3 separate regions of the Homo sapiens genome follow, and regions 1 and 3 are each linked to region 2. Evidence: promoter capture Hi-C in human tissues and cell types (Jung and others, 2019). All regions are on one chromosome and are shown on one strand. Each heading gives the region's core, a stretch centred on a gene start or on the middle of the fragment in contact. The rest is flanking DNA. Distances are from core to core; before and after follow the strand shown.

Evidence for each region. The method cuts DNA at HindIII sites, captures the fragments that hold promoters and counts their contacts. A contact is called where the count stands out against the background at its distance.
Region 1: a fragment that was not itself captured here is called in contact with the fragment with the promoter of HECA in region 2 in 1 of the 25 tissues and cell types used here (spleen).
Region 3: a contact is called between a fragment that was not itself captured here and the fragment with the promoter of HECA in region 2, in 1 of the 25 tissues and cell types used here (spleen).

The regions. Positions count from the first base shown.
Region 1 is chr6:138,416,529-138,419,878 of GRCh38, reverse strand. It overlaps HEBP2 (heme binding protein 2), which reads right to left. Exons shown (of 4, transcript NM_014320.3): 4 at 1-3,350. Among named protein-coding and RNA genes, the nearest start is that of HEBP2, 14 kb to the right of the region's middle. The HindIII fragment of the contact is 5,598 bases long and covers 1-3,350 here.
Region 2 is chr6:139,133,744-139,137,111 of GRCh38, reverse strand. It overlaps HECA (hdc homolog, cell cycle regulator), which reads right to left and starts at 2,032. Exons shown (of 4, transcript NM_016217.3): 1 at 1,445-2,032. The coding sequence starts at 1,715. RefSeq lists enhancers at 961-1,080, 1,946-2,240 and silencers at 1,191-1,460, 1,861-1,940, 2,051-2,240. The HindIII fragment of the contact is 7,882 bases long and covers 1-3,368 here.
Region 3 is chr6:139,923,705-139,926,847 of GRCh38, reverse strand. No RefSeq gene overlaps it. Among named protein-coding and RNA genes, the nearest start is that of LINC02941, 51 kb to the left of the region's middle. The HindIII fragment of the contact is 4,135 bases long and covers 1-3,143 here.

The DNA of each region.
Region 1 (3,350 bases), core at 581-3,080, 720 kb after region 2:
TGCAATATTGCCTAGAGAAGGTATACAGTCTCTGAGAACTAGGACTTCTGATGCTGTAGAACCTGGAGTTGTGGGCATGGGAAGTACTAAGTCCCTCAGTGGTTCGTTGGGTGCGATGGTAAGTGGGGTCACTCCTGCCTCCACTCCTTGGTTCTGAAATCTATATATTCCTGTTGTAGACACAGCATCATACAGGCTTTCTGATTCAATAAGTATACTGTGTGCAGGAGACGGTGGCACATCTTGGCAGGGTATTGTCTCCCACCTGGCACTAAAGCAGGCCATGCCAACATTCCATCAGTCTAGCAGCTTCTAGGTGGCGCAGTATGTGATAGGAGCAGTGGATCCTATGACCGCTGGCGAACTCTCCCTGATTGGGTGTTAACATGTATAGATCACGTATTCAGCAAATCTACGCTGACAGTTCAGATGTTTTGTAAGTCCTTAGATTGTGTTCAGGACCCTGTAGGCCCGAAAGGAACCACATACCTAGAATAGGAAGTCTGTCCTTGTGTGAATAAACTGCTGGTGCTTCTAGGAAAGAATGAGCCTACCATAGTGAATTTGCTATCAAGCGACCAGTTGGTCTTCACAGCCTCATCAGGGTCTCAGCATTGGTATTTGTTGCAGGCAGGTTGGATAGTCACAGTGAGCAGTGTCTAAGTTGGCCTTGGTAAGTGGGAGCCCATGTTGGTGGGTTCCATCCATAGCCTCCATCTTTGCCACCACTGCCACTTTATGTGTGCATTTTACCAGCACTGAGGTGGGCACTGGCAAAAGCTAATAGAACAGGCTAAGTCATTTCATCTACTTGGTTGTTTAGTGCCTCTTCTCTGGTGGGTGCTATCTAGTGGGCATTAACATGTGATACAGTTTTTCAACTTCTGTGTTCACTCCATATGCCCATCCACATGCCTCTACCCCAGACCTCCTAATCCATGTTTTTTTCCTCCCAAACTCCTGATCAGCTGGCAGGCCATTTTCTGCCACTTCCATAAATATTTTACCTGTCCTCCCTCACAAGGTGAATGATCCAGTGTACCTCAAAAAATTCTGCCCAGTTTTTGCAGGAAGATTGCAATTTTTTTCCCGTTTTTCAATGTCACCTTTGAGTGAAGGTCCATTTTCAGCTTGCAACTACAGAAGATAACTAATCAATAAACCAAGCCCAAGCATTCCTCTTCCTTCAGTGGATCATACAGGTCCTCCAACAACCACAGGGAGGGGGGATGTAGGTGCCACTGTGCAGACATGGCGGTTGGAGTAATTGCTCTTGCAGTTTGCTTATGTCCTCTGGTCTGGCTTGGAACTGCTCCTGTACATATCATTTCCATCTTCCAATGGGCTGCTGCCGATCCTACTAGCTTATGACTTAGTGCTTCCCACAGGACCTAGTTAAGATGAGCAGTTCTGGATACAGCATCACTGGGTCTCAAAGTTCCGTGTCTACCAGGGCCCAGTAGCACAGCAGAGGCTGTTTTTCAAAAAGCATATGATCCTCTCCTGTGGTTAGAACCACCTTCCTTCAGGGCCCCAGGGACCTGCACTGTGATTCTCTCATTGGGCCTTGTCATCTATTCCACACTGCATCTTCTTTCCCCCTACCTCCAATACATAAGATCTGCCACATCACATAATTCAAGCTGCTAATTTCTTCATATCTGTCACTTCTGGTTCTACTTCTAATGATTACCCTTTTTTCCTAATTATGGGCCATAATTTATATTTCTCTGTTTCCAGTAATTTTTTACTGAATGTTGGTAATTATGAGTGTTATGTTGTTTGTTGATGGATTTTGTTATATTCCTATAAATGGTATTGGGTTTTATTCTGATTCACAGTTAAGTTTCTTGAAATTAGTTTGATCCTTCCAAGGCTTGTCTTTAAGCTTTGTTAGGGGAAGTCCAAAGAAGCCTTTGGTCTAGGGACAATTTGACCTCAGTACTAAGGCAACACCTGTTGGAGGACTCCACCTGATGACCCATGCATTATGAGTTATTTCTACTCTGGCTAGTGGAAACACAAACTTTTCCCAGCCCCATAGATGATCTGTAAATTATTTGCTCTACTAATTTCCAGTTACTCATTTCTTGGCTTAAGTAGTTTCTTCTAACACCTTCACTCAACCAAGGACTCCAGGGGACCCACTGCAGATCTACAGCACTCTCTGTCTGTGTGCTGCTGCCTCCTCTCCTCTCACTTACTCACCTTGGCCTCCGGTGACACTGATCTCCATCTCCTCAACACAGCAGGACCACTGGTCTCTGGCTTCCCTCTCCCTGCTTTGCTGCCTAGAAACTGCCTCCAGGCCATTCGCCTGAGCAATCACTGGACTCACCTCATTATTCCCCCTTCTCGCAGAGATCACAGTCCTGTACTATGAACTTTCAGTGTCTGAAAACCATTGTTTCATATATTTTGTCTGGGCTTTTAGTTGTTTAAGAGGGACAGGTAAATTGGGTTCCCAATTCATCATCATGGCCAGAAGCAGATGTTCACCCGAGGTGCTTAAAAAATACTGTTCAAGGCAATATTTATTATGGTTTACTGCCCTGATTGGAGGAGAGGGAGTTTAGAAGCTTATACTCTTTCCCCACAGGTCAAGGAACAAATGTAGGGGTTATTCTGCCTGCCAAGGATGTCAGTCTCAATTATACATTCAGGGATTAGGCAGATAACCTGCAGGCCCAGGAGATCTGCTGTAAGCCAAACTTTGATTAGAACTACGTTTACTTTCTAACCTCTGTATGCTCCCATTTTAATGGGAGGAGGAGGAACTGTAATGACTCTTTGGGTTTCTGGGTATCAGACGTTAACTTGGACCCTGACGTATCCAGGTATTCCTCTTTCCCCAGGGTAGAGCCACCTGAGTAAATGGCCATAGATCCTTTAGAAAAAGAATGAGGGGATCATTACTGTGTACACCTGCTGAAATGTTGCAGGAAACTTTCCCCTAGGATACAGTCACCTCTGCAATTAATGAGCTCTAGGTCAGAAAACTGAACTAGAAACTGGCAAGGAATCATGTTTTTGTTTTTTAATTGGAGTGATCTCTCTCAGTCCCCTGCTCATCAATTCTTGCTCACTTTTGATTATATATAAAGCCTTACCCTTGTTGATTAGTCAGCTCTTTTGTCCCTAGGAATGCCTTGTTCTACCAACTATTTCCATGAGACTTTACAGGTCAGGACCCCTCGGCTGCCATTTGGAGCTTAGTGGTTAACAGGATACTGATGGCACCCTGGCTTCTGTGGCTGGCACTGCCACCTGGGCTCTTCAAGGTCTCATCATCATCCACATTGCTCTCAGCAAGTGAAGTTCCATCACAGCCCTTCCTGCCAGCCCCAGCC
Region 2 (3,368 bases), core at 783-3,282:
ATTCACAAACGGGGTAAGTTTGTTTCTGAAAATAAATAAATAAATCTTCCTATTTCAATATTGCAGAGACACAGCCAACGGGGCCTACAGTTCTAACAGGCGACATTCAGCCGCCTATGTTCAGAGCACTGTACGCTGCTTGTAAGAGCAGGTGCCCTGTTTAAAAAGTGCCTGATCTGGCTGGGCGTGGTGACTCACGCCTGTAATCTCAGCACTTTGGGAGGCCGAGACGGGCGGATCACGAGGTCAGGAGTTCGAGACCAGCCTGACCAATATGGTGAAACCCTGTCTCTACTAAAAATAACAAAAATTAGCCGGGCGTGGTGGCGGGCGCCTGTAATCCCAGCTACTCGGGAGGCTGAGGCAGGAGAATCGCTTCAGACCGGAAGACGGTGGTTGCAGTGAGCCGAGATTGCGCCACTACGCTCCAGCCTGGGCGAAATTGCAAACTCCGTCTAAAAAAAAAAAAACAAAACAAAAAAGTGCCTGATCTACATAAAGAATGGCTTCAAAAGCTGACGCTATAAATTAAAAGCCAGATATAACAATTCAAATCTCCCTTCATTAAAATACCTACGTTGTCTTCCTGGAAAAAGTGCCTGACTAGAGGAATTCAAAGAACTGTCCAAATAAGTAAGTGTTTGCCCAGCACCTTATAACGAAAACCATGGCTCTGTAATGAGAACAGAAATCCTGTCACATCTGGGCCAGTTCCTAAGTGTCCCCTCAAAAGGAACATTCAGGCACTACCTAAGATTATGAGGCTTCCTTCTGAAAATGTTAAGCACAATGACATAGAGAATGATTTTTCTTTTCTTTCTTTTCTTTTTTTTTTTTTTTTTTTAACTCCGGGCTGAGAACGGAAGTCAAGTTCAGATTCTCTTCCTTCCTCAAGCAAGCCAAAAAATTAAAGAGCAAACACAGAGGCCCTAAATGTCTCGAGGCCTCTTCACCTGTGGCGATCGACGCAGCAAGCCTGGGTGTGCTAAGAATTGAGGCTCTCTCTCCTTCATTCCGGGGGTTACGGGTGGCCTTGGAGCACCGGGAAGAATTAACCGGTGCCTAAGTTTTCAATCGGATCATTCTTCTCAACTTGGGCGGCTCTTTCCTCCCTTCCTTCCTCCCTTCGGCCCGGCACACACGGCGGGGCAGTGCCAGCGCGGGCAGCAGGCTGGGCCCGAGGGCAGCGCTGCCGCAGCCGGGAGCCCCTCAGAGTGTGGGGCGCGGGCTGCCCCCCGCGCGGACACCGGGCAGGGGCCGCAGATCTGTCCCCGCCGCCAGGCGTGGGGACCGCGAAGGGGCAGCCGCGGCGGGGCGGAGGGGCGGGGTGAGCACTTCCTGACTCTCGCATTGTCCACGCACCGCCCGCGCCACCCAGGGCCCCGCCACCGCGCCGTCCCCGTCGGGGAGGAAGTTGGCGCTCGCCCCGCCAGCCCCGTCTTACCGTTTTTGGCATCGCCCGCGGCCGCAGCCCCCGCGGCGGCCGCAGCGTTCGCGGCGCCAGTCCCCGCGCCTCCGGCGCCCGCCGCGCCTCCGGCGCCCGGCGCGCCCGCCGCCGCCGCCCCGCAACCGGCCGCCGCCGCCAGGGCCCCCCCGGCCGCCGCTCCCGCCGCGCCCGCCGCTGCCAGGGCCCCGGCTCCATTTTCCTGCTCGTCGCCGCTGCTGTTGGCGCGCTTGTTTTTGCGGCCGCCTTTGCTGTTTTTGGGGTTGGGCATCTCGCTCGCTCGCGTCCAGGTAGGTGCCCGGCGTCAGCGAAGGCGGATCCCAGAGGCACGGCCGTTCCCGGCCCTGCGTGAAGCCGGCTCCGGGAAAGAACGGAGGGCGCGAGCCGGCGGTTCCCTCGGCTCCCGTCTAGCCGCACGGCCCGTGCCGCGCCATCCTGGCCGCCGCGCCCTCTCCGGCTTCCTGGAGCCGGCACGCGGCCACCCGAGGCTCGCAGCCGCGCGGGCGCCGCGGGCCCGGGGCGCAAGCGAGACGCTCCCGAGCCGGAGGGAAAAGGCGGGTCTCCGGCTTGTTTTGATTCGGCTGCACTGACACGCTCTGGGCCCGCCCCCTCCCGTGACGACACTGGGGATTCGGCCTGGCCGCGCCCACCAGGTGACCTCACGGCTGACGGGACCGCCCGCGTGACGTCACGCCCCGCGCGGGGCCTGCCCACCTCGAGTGACGTCATCCAGGCGTCCCCACCCGGGCCTCCTGGACTCCCGGGCGTTCATGAGCTGCCCTGCTTGACTTGCTCCACCCGCCAGTGCAGTGGCATGTGGAGTTCTTCGGTGGCCTCCTGGCCTTAATGTAATTGAGGCTTAGAACAGTATGGTCTGGAAAAATAAGCTGTGACTAGAGCAAGAATGGAAAACAAAAGATTTTGGATTAATAACTCATTCAAAGGCTATGCCTTTCAGTAACAGTAATTAAAGAAACAGGGGACCGGGCGCGGTGGCTTATGCCTGTAATCCCAGCACTTTGGGAGGCCGAGGCGGGTGTATCACGAGGTCAAGAGATCGAGACCATCCTGGCCAACGTGGTGAAACCCTGTCTCTACTAAAAATACAAAAAAAAATTAGCTGGGCGTGGTGGCGTGCGCCTGTAGTCCCAGAAACTCGGGAAGCTGAGGCAGGAGAATCACTTGAACCTGGGATCCGAGATCGCGCCACTGCACTCCAGCTTGAGCAACAGAGCGAGACTCTGTCTCAAAAAAAAAAAAAAAAAAAGAAAAGAAAGAAAGAAACAGGGTAGAGTTCCCAGACAATGGGGATGAACACCAGGGTCCTGAATGGGAAGCCTTCACAGTCTGGTGGTGAAAACAATTCACTCAAACAAGACCCATCATCCAGGGATGTAACTAGATGTTGCCTGGACTCTGAAGCAGTCCCTGCTTGGGGGGAACCCATCCCTATGCATAGGGCTGAGTTGTCCTGAAAGATAGTGAAAGATAGGTAGCCAGGTTATGAGCAGTAGGAGATTAGGTGACACCAGTGAAGACAGGCAATATGAGGGCAGGGGACCCCTGGGAAGAGCTCCCCTTGATCTCTTTCTGCAATTCTATTCTACCTTTTCGGCCAACTCCTTCCCTTCCTTCAGGTCTCAGCTCAAATACATCACTTCCACAGAGACCTTCCCAGGAGAGCTGTCAGAAGTTCCACCCTGTTATTTTCCTCCTCCATCTCTAATTATGTTGGCAATGTAGGTGTTTACTTATTTCTTGTATATCTCCCTCTCACTGAAATGAAACCTCCATGGATAGATTTTATCTGCCTTGGGCACATCAGAGAACAGCTGGCATAAATTTGTTGAATGTATAAATTAGGTTCCTTCCTCACGAACTGTGGAGGAAAGACTAGTTTAGCTGACAGCTTTACAGTGTTCCC
Region 3 (3,143 bases), core at 391-2,890, 790 kb before region 2:
ACCCTCTCCAGCAGTGGACACTGCTCAGAAGCTGTCTACACCATGATTTAACACTGTGACCTTGTTTTGAAACAGTTCTTTTTGACACCAGATGTCCAACAATGGCTATGTTCGCAGACCTTGCACAGTACCTGCAATATTCATGGATGTCATTTTGCTCCAAAATGTGCTATATCAACAGCCTGTCTCAACACCATCTCCTGTCTCAGGTTTCCTGAGAAAAGGAAGGCACTGGGGTGAAATGAGGAGACTCCACTGGATTGATGGGTGAGCCTCAGCCTTATCTAGATTCCCCTATGTTTCAGGGTAGTTTTGTGCACTTTGGTGATGCTGAGAACAGATTGATGCCAATAAGCCATTTGAGATAAGAACTAATTGGAAACAGAAGGTTGAAGAATGATTATGTTGGGAATGAGCAAAGGGGACAGACAAGTAATTATTCCGGCAGAATTTCTTTACACAAAACGCAGATGGAAGAGGGAACAAAATTCCAAAGTCCGTGGCAGAAGTACGCAGCTGCACATTTCTTTTTTGCGGAAAAGCAAACAGAGTGATTCACTGGGTTGGTAATGGGCTTCGGGGATCCCTAGGGATTCACAATGTGCTGGCAGCCCACAGCATGTAAAATAACTCAGTGGCCTCTGTGTACTTCGCCTCCTCAACTGGCTGTAATTGTGAAGCACATGGACAAGATGGAAGGGAAGGACTGAGGAGAAGCGGCCTCCTGTTTACACATGAATCACGGTGGTGGTGTGTTGCAAAGAAGGCAGAAACAGCAACGCATACATATTCCACATTTGTAACAAGCCATAGATCAGACTGGACTGCACACTTCCATTCATAAATATGAGCTCATAACAAATAGAAATCAGGGAAAGTAGAATCTTGCACAATATTCCTCAAAATTATTATAGAGTCATCAGGCTGCAGTTAAATCGAGCTCTGTGATTTCAAAACTATGATTTGATTTGAAAGGCAAAGACAATAATAATTAGTAATCAGGGTAGAAAACTGAGCATCCACCCCCACCCACAAAGAAAAATCCATCAGCAGCAGTTTTACTCAGCGAGGCTAATTAAAAGCTGTCTAACACTGTAATGCGTACAAAAATACAAAATAAAGACAGAAAACCTTGCCTAGTTTTGGTCTCAGACTTAAACGATATCTTCCTTTGGCTATTTGTGTGTGTATATATATAAATATATATTTATAGTCAACAGTGATTTAAGGACAAACGCATTCAAAAAACATTCAAGGGCATCCCTCCTAAAGCATGATATAGTCAAAAGGAAACTGGACTCCTCACTGGATGGGAACATGAAGGACATTGCAGGCTTCACAGTGATGAGAGGAGTTATTAACATGTAGGAAATTATAGAGAAAAAGAAAAAAATAAAGAGATATAAGACCTTGGCCGGGCGCAGTGACTCATGCCTGTAATCCCAGCACTTTGGGAGGCCGAGGCGGGTGGATCACTTGAGGTCAGGAGTTCGAGACCAGTCTGGTCAACATGGGGAAACCTCGTCTCTACTATAAATACAAAAATTAGCTGGGTGAGGTGGCGCATGCCTATAATCCCAGCTACTCAGGAGGCTGAGGCAGGAGAATCACTTGAATCCGGGAGATGAAGATTGCACTGAGCCGAGGTTGCGTCACTGCACTACTGCCTGGGCGACAGAGCGAGAGTCTGTCTCAAAAAAAAAAAAAAAAAAAAAAGAGAGAGATATAAGACCTCATATGAGGTAAGAGCCATAATTTGGAAACACAGATAAGAAAAAAGGTAGGTACAGTTATTCAAAAAAGAAAAGAGGTTGGGCGCGGTGGCTCATGCCTGTAATACCAGCACTTTGGAAGGCCAAGACAGGTGGATCATGAGGTCAGGAGTTCAAGACCAGCCTGGCTAAGATGGTGAAACCCTGTCTCTACTAAAAATAAAAATAAAAAAATAGCCGGGCATGGTGGTGGTTGCCTGTAATCCCAGCTACTGAGGCAGAGAATTGCTTGAACCCAGGAGGCAGAGGTTGCTGTGAGCCGAGATTGTGCCATGCACTCCAGCCTGGGTGACAGAGTGAGACTCTGTCAGAAAGAAAGAAAGAAAGGAAAGAAAGAAAGAGAGAAAGAGAGAAAGAGAGAAAGAGAGAAAGAGAGAAAGAAAGAAAGAAAGAAAGGAAGAAAGGAAGAAAGGAAGAAAGGAAGAAAGGAAGGAAGGAAGAAAGGAAGGAAGGAAGAAAAGAAAGTGAGAAAGAAAGAGAGAAAGAGAGGGAGAGAGGGAGGGAGGGAGGGAGGGAGGGAGGGAGGAGGGAGATGGCAGTAATATATTTCAGAAGAAAAACAATAGTAGATTTCAGAGTAATAGATTTTTGGTGAGATGAGGTATGGACTTTTACAATGCTTGATTGGTTTAGGGTTTTTAAAAATTGATGTCAAAGTACATCCAGTTGCAACCTCTTCCCTGCCCCAACTCTCTTTTTCCTCTTCCCTCAAGCGTCTAAACTCCTTTCTGCTGTAGGCCGACACAAAGAGTTCTTCTGTTGGTCTGGCTCTTCTTGACTTTTCCCTCCAGCTAAATCACACTCAGTCTTCTGGCTTCATGGGTGTTTTTTGCACATGATGCAATGAAATCTGTAGTTATATATTTATTTCTGTGTTGGCTTAATGTCAGTCTTCCGTGCTACACAGTAAGCTGCCTTAAGCCGAGACTTGTCTGTCTTGTTCACCACTGTTCAATCTGGTCCTCGGCCAAGAGACTGGCACAGAGTAAGTGCTCAATAAAAGCTTGTTTCTGAATTGATAAACATCACCCCAAAACCTCTCACAGACCTTTGTTAGTAGGAAAATGGTTAGAAGGAATACAGCTGGATCAAGAGACTGATGTATGCAAACAAAATATTTAAATTTGAAAAAGTAATTTAAGCAGCATTTTGCTACTTACAGCTGGCTAAAAGTGATAATAATATATAATTCACCCTAAACTGAAGTTATGTTTTTCTTCTCTGCTCTGTGCTGGCCAGAGGTGCCTCCTGAATCATGAGCTTAATATGATTCTTCAGGAAATGACTTAGGTGAACTGAAGCTATTACCACAGGCAGCGAATTGCCTTGGTTCACCAAATTTGCCTGTTTTGAGTGGCTTCGTCCAGAGAG